Linked DNA regions of Homo sapiens: region 2 is linked to region 1. The links are contacts of gene promoters, found by promoter capture Hi-C in blood cells and fetal thymus (Javierre and others, 2016). All regions are on one chromosome and are shown on one strand. Each heading gives the region's core, a stretch centred on a gene start or on the middle of the fragment in contact. The rest is flanking DNA. Distances are from core to core; before and after follow the strand shown.

The links. Contacts are between HindIII fragments. The CHiCAGO score rates a contact against its expected background, and 5 or more counts as called.
Region 2: a contact is called between a fragment that was not itself captured here and the fragment with the promoter of FRYL in region 1, in 2 of 17 cell types (naive CD8 T cells and naive CD4 T cells). The highest score is 7.6, in naive CD8 T cells.

Annotation. Positions count from the first base shown.
Region 1 is chr4:48,776,946-48,782,557 of GRCh38, reverse strand. FRYL (FRY like transcription coactivator) reads left to right here and starts at 2,279. Exons shown (of 64, transcript NM_015030.2): 1 at 2,279-2,480. RefSeq lists silencers at 2,234-2,343, 2,434-3,313. The HindIII fragment of the contact is 8,638 bases long and covers 1,269-5,612 here.
Region 2 is chr4:47,457,841-47,463,452 of GRCh38, reverse strand. COMMD8 (COMM domain containing 8) reads left to right here. Exons shown (of 5, transcript NM_017845.5): 2 at 3,154-3,309. Among named protein-coding and RNA genes, the nearest start is that of COMMD8, 3.1 kb to the left of the region's middle. RefSeq lists a silencer at 1-20. The HindIII fragment of the contact is 2,682 bases long and covers 128-2,809 here.

The sequences.
Region 1 (5,612 bases), core at 1,030-3,529:
AAACTAAGGTAGAGAGATAAAGTCTCTCTGAATGAGAAAGTACAACTTGTAAAATTCTCCAGGGTTAGAACTGGGGCTGTGTTCATCAACACTGAACATTCTTAAGAATAACCTCTACGTTGTAAGCTCCAGGTTTGTAGATTTTTAAAATTCTTCTTTGCTGTGAAATGCCAGTAGGAGTATTAGTACCAGGAAGTTGCATGTGTGGGCTAAAAAGTGATAAATGATCCTATTGTGGGCAAATATGAAATATTTAGAGAAAAGAATAACACAAATTATACTTGAAAGGTGATAATCTCAGCATAGTTGGTTCAATGCAAGTAAGAGAATCTAGAGGTTACTGTAGACTGCCTTCTCTAGTTTATATGCCCAGTCTGCTAGTGCAGCAAAAGAGGGCAGTAACAAGCTGGATATCATAGGGCAGGTGTTTTAGAAAGAACCTGAAAACATCACTTAGACCTTGAACAAAAGCTGCAGGTGTGTACATGCCTGAAACACTGGATATCTTTATCTCCAGAAGATCATACTAGATATCAGTACATAGTATCTTCTTCTTCTTATATTCTAATGTAGAATATTAGAACCCAGAAGCAGTCTCAGAGTTTGAGAGTGGTAAGTGAGTAAACCAGAAGTATTAGTTTAGCTTGGCTGCAGTTTTATTATACAGTAAAATCAGAATAGGCTAAGCATAGGGATTTAGTTATAGGGACTTAATAGGGAGGATGTGTGTATCTGTGAAGGCCATATAAATGCAACCCAGATAGTTCATCGTCTCTTGCCCCCACTAGTGATACCTAAACCACCTTCCTGCAACGTTCCCTTTTGTTTCCTGCTCTTTCATATTTTCGGGAATCCTCATGAAATTTTTCACCTGTATTTGGGGAAAAGTCCTATGAACTACCAACTACTGATGTTTACTTACCCTTCTCTGTCATCATCAAGCCCCTTTTCTAGGGTACTGCTGAGCACTGACACTTCCTTGGCACCATTAGATTATACTGGGGTATCACTGCAAATGTACTAAAGCCCCCGGGGTACACAGTCTTCAAGGTTCATCGGCAAAGAGGGAGAGAACACATAACCATTTTCCCCTAACATTCTTAGATGGGTACCGAAGCTGTACCTGTACTCAATTTTAGTGGAAATAAACCTTTTAGTTCTTACAGCTCCAGTGGGAAACTGGGGAAACTCTAAAGCAGACCCCGCACTAGGCTTCCCCATAATTTCTTCTCTTTTCAATGCGTGAGGTTCTGCTCCATGGTCAAGCTTCTGGTATCAGATTCCCTCTTTCCCTTAGACAGACTCGTTTTCTCCTGAGAGGCATCTCAGTTGTTCAAGTGACCTGGGGTGTTTTTCCTACAGTTCTAGCAAGGGGGAACGAAGTCCTACACTTTGAGGATGGCATAAGGGTACCATCTACTTAATTTTTTCAAAAAAGTAACAGGTCTCGTGGAAACGCGGGAACGTCACAGAGGACGTGACTTAAACGGAACTTGTAATGGAAATGATTTTCTAAATGAACAATTGCGAGACAAGCAAGGAAACCTCCAGGTTTGCAGATAACTTGATTAAAGCTCTTCCGGGTGGCAAAATGCCAGTGCAATCAATGGTATGAGTAGGGCGGACAGTGGATGAAACTTGTTGAGTAAATCTCAGGAGGAATTAGCACTGGACTTTCAGGTATTCTAACTCAATTCTAACCATTCCATTCTCTGGATCATTGGATAAGGTTCCGCAGGATCCGGGCGCCAGCTCTGGATACATTACTGATCGGGAGAAAATTTTGAATTTTTCTCTTGTCCCTTTCCAGCTTTCCTCAATATAGGATATGAGTTTGTCCTCGACCCCTAACAACATTTAAAGGTAAAGTCGCTCCTAGAAGGCAAAGCGGAGAGGACTTTGCGGCTGTGTTTCTCAAGCCCGTAAAGAGAGAGTAATAATGGTAGGGAGCGTGCAGACTAGCTCTTTCCTTGCCCAATCAAGTGTACAGGAAGATGTCCTTTCACCAATAAAAATAAAGTTCGCTTTCCGGAGGCGGGAGGGTGAGCCTTGACTGCCAGGGCTCCAAAGCAACGTTAGAGGCGAGGGCAGAGAATGATTAGAGGGAAGACCAACCCGGGAAAAGGGGCGGGGAGAAGGTAGGAGCAACTTTGAGCGGCGGCTGGCCAGGCCAGTGGAGGGCGAGGACTGCTGTTCCTGTTGTAGTGTTTCTCGCCAATCAGGAAGGCCAGGGGGCGGGCGGGGTAGGGAAGGGGTGGGAAGACCTCGCAGCACAGCCGGGCGCCCGTCGGGCTCTGGGAGAGAGCGAGAGAGAAATCCGGTTAAAATCAGAGTCGGAGGGAGGTTTAACCACAGATCGGTTCCGATCGGATTATTCCTTAAAGGGGACGCGCCATTGTCAAGAGAACGGAGCCAGGGGCCCGAGGGCGGGGACCGGCGGCGCTGGAGGAGCGAGGCAGCTGTACTAGGACTGGGAACGGGTAGGTGTTGACTGGGGAAAGGCGCTTCATTTTACTTTCTCTTCCAGCCCCGGGGCAGGCGCCGGGATGCCCGCCGCCGGCAGCCCAGCCTGGGCGGGAGACGAGGTCGTCGGCCCTCGCCAGCTGTCCTTCCTGGTGGGCGCCGAGGGAAGGCGGTCCAGGATGGCTGGCAAGCGGCGCGGCGCGGCCCGGGCCGGCGCTCGTAACGGACACCAAACCGCGGCGCAACCCCAGCCTCAACCGAAAGCCCGCCCGAGCTCCGGCGGTTCCGCCGGCAGCGCCGCGCGCCCGTCTCTCCCGCACGTCCCCTTCCCCTCCAGTGCCTGGCTCTTCTCGCGCGCGCCCGGGTACCCCTCGCGCGCCGCCTTCTCGCGCGTCCTGCTCTGGTCGCGCGCCGCCTCGCCACCGACTCGCGGGAGCCGCCCCGCGGGAAGGAAGGCGGTGGCAGAGGTGGAGGAAGACCGGCGACCACGGCTCCGCCGCCTCGGCTGGGAAGGGAGGGCTGAGGAGCAAACTTAGCGCGGCGGCTGGCGGGCCCCGGCGGGCAGGGCTGGCGGGGACCGGCGGAGCGCGCCAGCCCAGCCGGGCATTGTCCGCCTTTTCCCTTGCTCTGGTCTCTCCGCCCACTGCTCGCGGTCCTGGGGAGGGGTGCGGGCGCTGTGCCCGCGCAGCCCCGGGCCGTTGGCGTACCCCGGGACCCGGAGTCTTCCGGAGCCGGAGCCAGCCCTGCGGACACCGCGGCCACCGCCCGCGAGCTGACTCGGCCTGTAGATTGCCTGCTGCTCTCAGCCTCGGCACCGGGCAGGGTGCCTGGGCGCTGAGCTCTTCTTTGCAACTTTTATTTGCCGTTTGATGGAAGTTGTTGCTTCCGGGCGGCAGGTTCTTTGGGCACAGCCTGGTTTCCTGCGTTCTGGAGAGGCTGGTTTCTAGGGCGAAATGATTTATTGCTGCCGGTCTTTCCTGCCATCCTAGTTTAGTTCCTCGCCACCTAAAATCGCATTTTTGTGGATTTGCAATGATATGGGAGCATTAATCTTTCCTAGGCCAAGATTTGAAAAGAAAAAAAAGGGGGTGGGGGTTAGGGTGTGTGCTGGTGAGGAGCAAGAGTTCTTAGTAGAGCTGAGTTTGCCCTTACCTTTGAACTGCGGAAAATATTACTTCGATTCACTGGCTGGGGTTCTTTTGGAAGGGTAGGGGAAAAAAGACACAGCAAGACAGGTTGCCAGGGTCTGTCGGATTGGGGGGGAAAAAGGGTTTTGATGGAAGTAAAGTTGGTTTTATAAAATGCTGTGCTGCCTAGGAGATATCGTCTGTAAAGTTGATTCTGCTACTGAATTTACAGCCATTATAATTAGTACCAACAGCTTTTACTATTGATAAAAACTAGTATAAGACGTCTTTTCATCTTGAGCATTATCACTCTGCTTAATCTGTCAATACTTGCCGAGGAAATCAGAGATAGCACATTCCTTGTTAGAGGCCTTAGTGAAGAATGTTTTCATAAGCATTCATTTTTGACAGTTTCTTCTTGTGCAATACTTTATGTAGAGTACTTGCATGTGCAAGTTACAACCGTATAAACAAAGTAGCAGTGGGTGTGTTATTCTCTGGTCTTTTTTCTGCTACTCATTATCAAAAATAGCATTCCATCGTGTCTTGTCTTCCACTCTGAATTATTTTGTAAAATTAGTTCTCTAAAAGAGGGAATTCTGTTGGAACATGTGACCCAGTTTTTTTTTTTTTTATTAAAGCAGTCCAACTTTTTAAAGCGTTCATCGATTAATTTATTGTCTAGTAACTTCGGAGTGGTGTGGAACATTGTAAATTCACAGGCTCAGCAGTAACAATAGAGAAACTACTTGGGAAATTGGAAGCCAATATCAGATAATGTTTGAAATAAAAATCTATTCTTCTCACAGAATTTAGGAAATAAAGACACACAAAAACAAATTCTTTGGGTTCAAGTGATCCTCCCACCCCAGGCTCCGTAGTAGCCGGGACTACAGGTGGGCACGACTGCGCCTAGCTAAAATTTTTATTTTTTGTAGAGATGGTGGTCTCACTTTTTAATTTTTCGTATAGACGGCTGGTCTCCAACTCCTGGCCTCAAGCGATCCTTCTGCTTTGGCCTCTCAAAGTGCTGGGATTACAGACTGAGCCACCGTGCTTGGCCGTTTGTAGTAATCTTGATGGTATCTGGCATTGTTTCACCTAATATTTCTTCTTTTTTGTTTTTTTCTTTGATCCATTTCTGTGATAAGGATGTCAGGCAAGCAGCTAGGCATAATCTTCCTTCCCATCTCATAATAAAAGGAGACGGTTAAACCAAGTTTTTAAATGTCTGTCTTTGTTTACTTACCAATTTATTTAAACAATAAAAGAATTTCTCAACTTTTAGAAGAGAACATATGAATAAAACATTCAGAAATAATTATCTTTGAAATATCTAGACTGTATTTCCTGAAAAAGACTTTTTCCTCTTTTGTGCTTTCTACATTGTTTTAAACACATTGTTTTATATGCACACATTTCTTGAGTTATGAACTGTTTCTTGAGATCCTTGGGAGCCAGAATTATCCTCCATTTCTGTGCAGATTCACTGTATCACCTCGGACCTTTTTAGTACCCAATAAATGTCTTATTTTAGGTCTTTGTGACAGAAAAAGATAATGTCCTGTAAAGGCCGCTTGAGTTATTTAATTTTTTAAATAAACACCTTTCTGAACATTTTATACTAAAGGCCAGCAATTGGCTTACTGTTGGGGGAAGATATGTCAATCTAGAGGTTCTTTGTTCTGTGTACAAAATTGTGATTTGTTTATAATATCTGTTCCACAGACATCTTTTGTGATGGTGAACACATTGTCACAATTATTCACAATTATTCAGGACTAGGTTTTATGTGTCAATAAGATCTGTTGAGTATACTTTTATTTAAAGGGTATTATGTAAAGTAGAAACCGATGACAGAGTATTTATGGAGATAAAGTAGAACTGGATGACAGTCTTGCTCTAAATAGTTTTTGTTTTTTTTTTAAATTAGACCCAGAGCCAGCAAATCAGATGTATACAGTTTAATGAGAAGATGCAAAATTACGATTCTTAGGAAAAGGACAGTGGGTATGTCAGTGC
Region 2 (5,612 bases), core at 219-2,718, 1.3 Mb after region 1:
GGTGGTTGGTCCCCGCCTTCCCTGGGGAGCCTAGGAGGACAGCTTGGGGCGCCACCCCCAGCCTAGAGGTGCAGCTCCAGGGGCTTTGCGCGCAGAAGCGCCCACACCAGACTGGGCTTTGAAAGCTTAAGTCGGTGTTTGCTGCCTCTTAGTATACGTTTTCTTAATTCATTCAACACATAACCTCCCAAAGGCTCCCTACCTACCGGACAGCAGGTACAGAGCTAGGTGCTGGAATACAATGTGACAAAGACCGAAGCGGACCCTGCCTCCCCCCTTGAGGGTGGTTGGTAGGAAGAGAAATAACTGGGCGAGTTACTTTAGTTAGGATCGTCCCAAGAGGTGATGTACCCATTGACTTCCAGTCTGTAAAAGAACCTGGCTTGTAAGAATCTGGAAAAAGCAACCACATTCATTTGTTCAGCCAGTTTTTCATTGAAGTCTACCATAGATTGAGCGCCCCGATGGGATGAGGTAAATGGTGAGTGAGACACAGCCTGTGCCCTGGTGGAGCATCTTTTTTATAAGTCTCAATTTTGGCTTCCTGTTTCCTCTATTCCATTTATACTGGAGAAAGTGTGGAGGAGACAGAAAGGAATGAACTTACCTCCTGCCAGGGTCAAGAAAAAAAAACACCTAATTCTTTTCTTTGTTTTTGCAAGTGAGGAACCTGAAATGTCAGCAGAAATTTTGGCTAACTTGCCCAGGATTGCCCATCCAGTTAGTGGCAGAGCTGGAACTTATGCTCAGATCTGTTGATTCTGAGTGTTTTATTGGCTTTTGGCTCTCCTTGTCTTCACTCTACCCATTTAGATAAGGCCCATAACCTTTATTACCATATATGTCGATGACTTCTAAATCTTTAGGTCCAGCCAAAAATTTCTTCCTCTATGGTTCAAGAATGCCAGGTAAAAAACAAAACAAAACCCCAAAAACCCCAAACCAAAATCTCTTCCCTGAGTGTCAGGCTTCTGCCACAGGTACCTCAAATTCAGTATGCCCTTGCCTCAGCTCTTCTTTCCCCCTGGACCTACTCCTCCCGTAGCCTCATTTTCGGTTTGTGGCACCACCACTTTCACCCAGCCCCTCTCAACCTGACGTTCTAGGTTTCATCCATGGCCCCCCCTTTTCACATCTCTTCTACCTCTTTACTGCCTCCATTTTGAGTGTCCTCAACAATTTAAGCCCCTTAATCTTTAACTCCTTAACTGAAAATTGAGGCATCTGGGCTCACCCTCTCTCTTACATCTTCCAACCTGTTAGCAAATATATGGAAAAATAATGCAAATGTGTGAATAGGTTGCTTCCCGGTTGAGCACAGATTGAAGTCTAGGCTCTTTTACTTTGTACACAAGGCCCTTTTTGATTTGGCTCCACCCACCTCTCCAGCCTTGTCTCCTGTCACCCCCTAGGCACCCCCCAAAATAACTTGCTTGTGTCTAGAAATGCACTTCTTCTCTCCTGTTTTGCTTGGCCAACTACTCATCCTTTTAAGATGGACTTTTCCTTGCTTCCTCTCTGTGCTCCTTCGTACCTTGTATATATTTTTATTATGGCCCCATCATTCTAAATTACATGTATTTGTATGTTTGCCTTTTTCGAATGGACTAAAGCTCTGTTATGGTAGGGCCTTATTTATTCTCAGTTTCCTCATTTGTAAAATAGAAATAATAACAATGGTTACTTCAGAGTTGTAGTGAGGATCAGTCCAGAGTGTGGTACCTAGTTAGGGATCCATAACGGTAGCTATTATAGTTTCTTTGCCATTAAATAAAGTCATTTCCATGACCTTTGTCATTAAATAAGGTCATTTCCATGACTTTATTTAATAACTGGGATGAAGTGTTCATTACATATTTGTGAATGAATAACAAACATATTCCAAAAAAGATAATGCTTTTATTTTTCAGTTTGAGTTCTGGGTTTTTTTTTTAGCATGGGGACAGTATAGGATAAGGTGTAGAGAATTTTGAATGGATTCAAAATTGAGTATGTTGATTTATGGTAAATAAAAATTCAGTTTGTATAGTATATTAGCCACCATTTGGAAGCAGTTGCTTGTGTTCTGGCATGTGTGGTGTTAGAGGGAAGGAGTTATTAGTTAAAATGGGGTGGAATATGATTATTTCCAAGTTATTTGGTTCAAATACTCCTCTTGTAAGATACAAATAACTTCAAGAAAGATAACCTTATTAAATGTTAAGTGCTTAGAATAGTACTGGCATTGTGTTATCTCAGTTAATAGATGCTGAAGGCATGAATTGGAGGAGGAGGACTAGTGATAATAATTAGAATGGTAACGAGGGCTAGCAATGTCTACATGTCTTTGTACATGCCAGGAAGATGCCAAGTGATTTGCACGTATTCTTATTCCATCCTTACAGCAAGATTAAGAGAATAGATGATATCCTCATTTAACACTTGAGGAAGCAGACTCAGAACATTTAAATAAAACTTGAAAATACTGAAACTGGGATTGGAACTGGATAGTTTTATTCCAAAATCCGTAGTCTTAATCACTATGCTCAGTTATACATGTGTTAGGCTTTCTGTTGCTGATATTAAGATACTAATAGGATAGAAAGGAAAGTAAAAAAAGGAAAAAAGTACTGGAGACTTTCTGGGAATACAGCAAAAGTAACTGCTGAGCTGGGTGCGGTGGTGCTCGTCTGCAGTCCTAACTACTTGGGAGGCTGAGATGGGAAAATTGCTTGAGTTCAGGAGTTCAAGGCCAGCCTGGGCAACATAGTGAGACCCTCAAAAGAAAAAAAAGTATGTTGTGAAAATGGAGGCAAAGCAAAATGAAGCTTATAGGCCTACAGTAAGAGACTTTGATATAAGTCCTATCCTTTTGTTTGGTCGTTGCTATAAATATGGAATCTTTTATATGTATCTTCCTTTTAGTTTTTTCATTATGTAATTTTTATAACAAAATTATTTTAGCTTCTGAAGGTCAACATAATAATAGAAAGTCTAGGATTTTTATGAGTTCTAATTTTTAATTAGAATAATCTTAAAAGTGGTTTATACATTTTAACTTAAGCTGGTCTTGCAGATAACATGAACATCTCCCAACATTTGTTTGTTAAGAGGAAGATAAATTTGTTTCATCATTTTACTTATAAGTACATTTATTTCCTTTTTTCTTGCTAGCTTCTTCACAAAATAATTGATGGCATTTGTGGTCGAGCTTATCCTGTGTACCAAGATTATCACACTGTTTGGGAATCAGAAGAATGGATGCACGTTTTAGAAGATATTGCCAAATTTTTCAAAGCCATAGTTGGTAAAAACTTACCTGATGAAGAGGTAACTTCTCTGCACATTTCTATAACTTACAATAAATAATGCTCAGGTTTCTCTCTGAGTTTTTTAGAGCAATGTATAATACAAGGGCTATCATCAGTAACAACAAATACCTTATAATTGTGAATGGAAAAATCTGTGGAAGTCCTAGGTTTTTGCAGTTTTGTTTTTGGTTGTTTTTACTCTTTTGTGAAACATTTAAAACATACAGAAGAAAACAAGAAATTATATAACTGACACCTACATTCACATTACCAGTTAAACAGGTGTTAACATTTTGCAATGTGTGTGTTTGTTTCAGAAATAAAGCATTACAAAGATAACCTAAATTCCCTTATCCCCCTCCTGGATATCCCACTCTTACCTAGAGATCACCACTCTTGAAGGTGGTGTTCATGTTTTGTATTATATATTGTGTGTATGTTTGAATCTTTTAGTGTATTGAAATTATTTGGGGTGTGTCAGTGTATAACTTGTAATAAAATGTAACATTTGTCTGCACTTGTAAATTGTTTTAAATGCAGCATTGTGTTTTACATTGATAAACATGGATCTAGTTAGTGTATTTTAACTCCTTGTAGTATTTGATGATAGGAATTAAATAGGATTTATTTATCTCCCTACTGACTAATGAATAGTCATTGCTTCTTTCATTATTACAAGTAGTGCTGCTATAAATGTTCTTTACATGTCTCCTTGTTCACACTCACACCAGCTTTTCTGGGGTAGATATCTTGAAGTGAAATTGCATGGTCATAGGATATCCTTCTTCCACTGAATTGCTTTTGCATCTTTGTCAAAAATCATTTGAGCTTGTGTAGGTTGCTCACTTTTCTAAAAATCAAGTTATGTATGTTTGTCATTGATTTGGTTGATATTCTGGATATAAGCTCATTGTTAGAAATATGTATTTTAAATATCTTCTATTATGTGCTTGCCTTTTTACTCTCTTAATGGTATCTTTTGGTGAAACAAGTTATGAAATTTAACAGATCTACTTTGTCAATATTTCTTTTGCTGGCTAATACTATTAATGTTTTGTTTCAGAAATATTTGTGCTGAAGACATGAAGATTCTTGGATGTATTCTTGTAGAAGCTTGATTGTTTTAGCTTTCACATTATGTTACTGATGCATTTTGAATTAATATTTGTGTATGGAGTGGAGGTCAAGTTCACAATTTTCTACATTAATATCTAGTTGACCATTTATTGAAATGACCATCCTTGCCCCACAATATTGCTGTGCTGCCTTTATTGTAAATCAAGTGGCCCTATATTTGTGCCTCTGTATCTCAACTCTTCAATGTATTCCATTAGTCTACTTTTGTATATTTGCCAATGCTATACTGCTTTAATTACTGTAGAATTAAAGCTAAATTAAATTATGTCTTCATATCTGGTAATAGAAGACCTTCATTCTCATGCTTCTTCAGGAGTGCCTTGGCTATTATATTTTCGGATAACCCTCTAGAATCAACTTTTCAGTTTTAACCTACAAACCTGCTGGAATTTTGATAGAGATCATTTATGGGGAGAATTGACATCTTAACAACATTTAGCTTTCCAAAGTTAAGAACATGGGATAGCCCTCTATTTATTTAGATTAGCTTTAGTTTGTCTCTCTCGTATTTTGTAGTTTTCAGTGTTGAGCTCTTGCAAATATTTTTATTTCTGAGTAAATGATGTTTTTGATCTTTAATTTTTCAGTAGTTTTTTGCTAGTATGTACAGTTGATTTTTATATACCTTGTGTCCCACAGCCTTTCTAAATTTGTTTACTGTGTCTAATTGTATACAGATTTTTTGGGGGGAGATTGTATATAATAATTTTCTTTTTCAACTTTAACATCTTTCATTTATTTTTCTTACCTTAGCGCATTGGCTAACACCAGTAGTCAGTGTTTCTTTTAAAAAAGCAGTCATAGTAGATATATATCTATTCCTAACCTTAGGGAGAAAGTGTTTACTATTTCACCATTTAGTATGTTAGCTCTGTAATTTTATAGATATCCATTATCAGACTAAAGAAGCATCCTACAATTCTAACTTTGCTGAGAATTTTTACCATGAATGGATATTGAATTTTATGAAATGCTTTTCCCTGAATTTATTATTGTTTCTTCTCTATTTTGTTCATGTGATTTTTGAATGTTAAACTAAGGCTGCACTGCCAAAATAAACCCCACTTGATCGTGATGTATTATCTTTTTTTTTATATATCTCTTGATTTGGATTGCCAATATTTTGTTTAGGATTTTTACATCTATATTTGAGTGATCTTGGCCTAGGTGTTTTTTTTTTTTCTT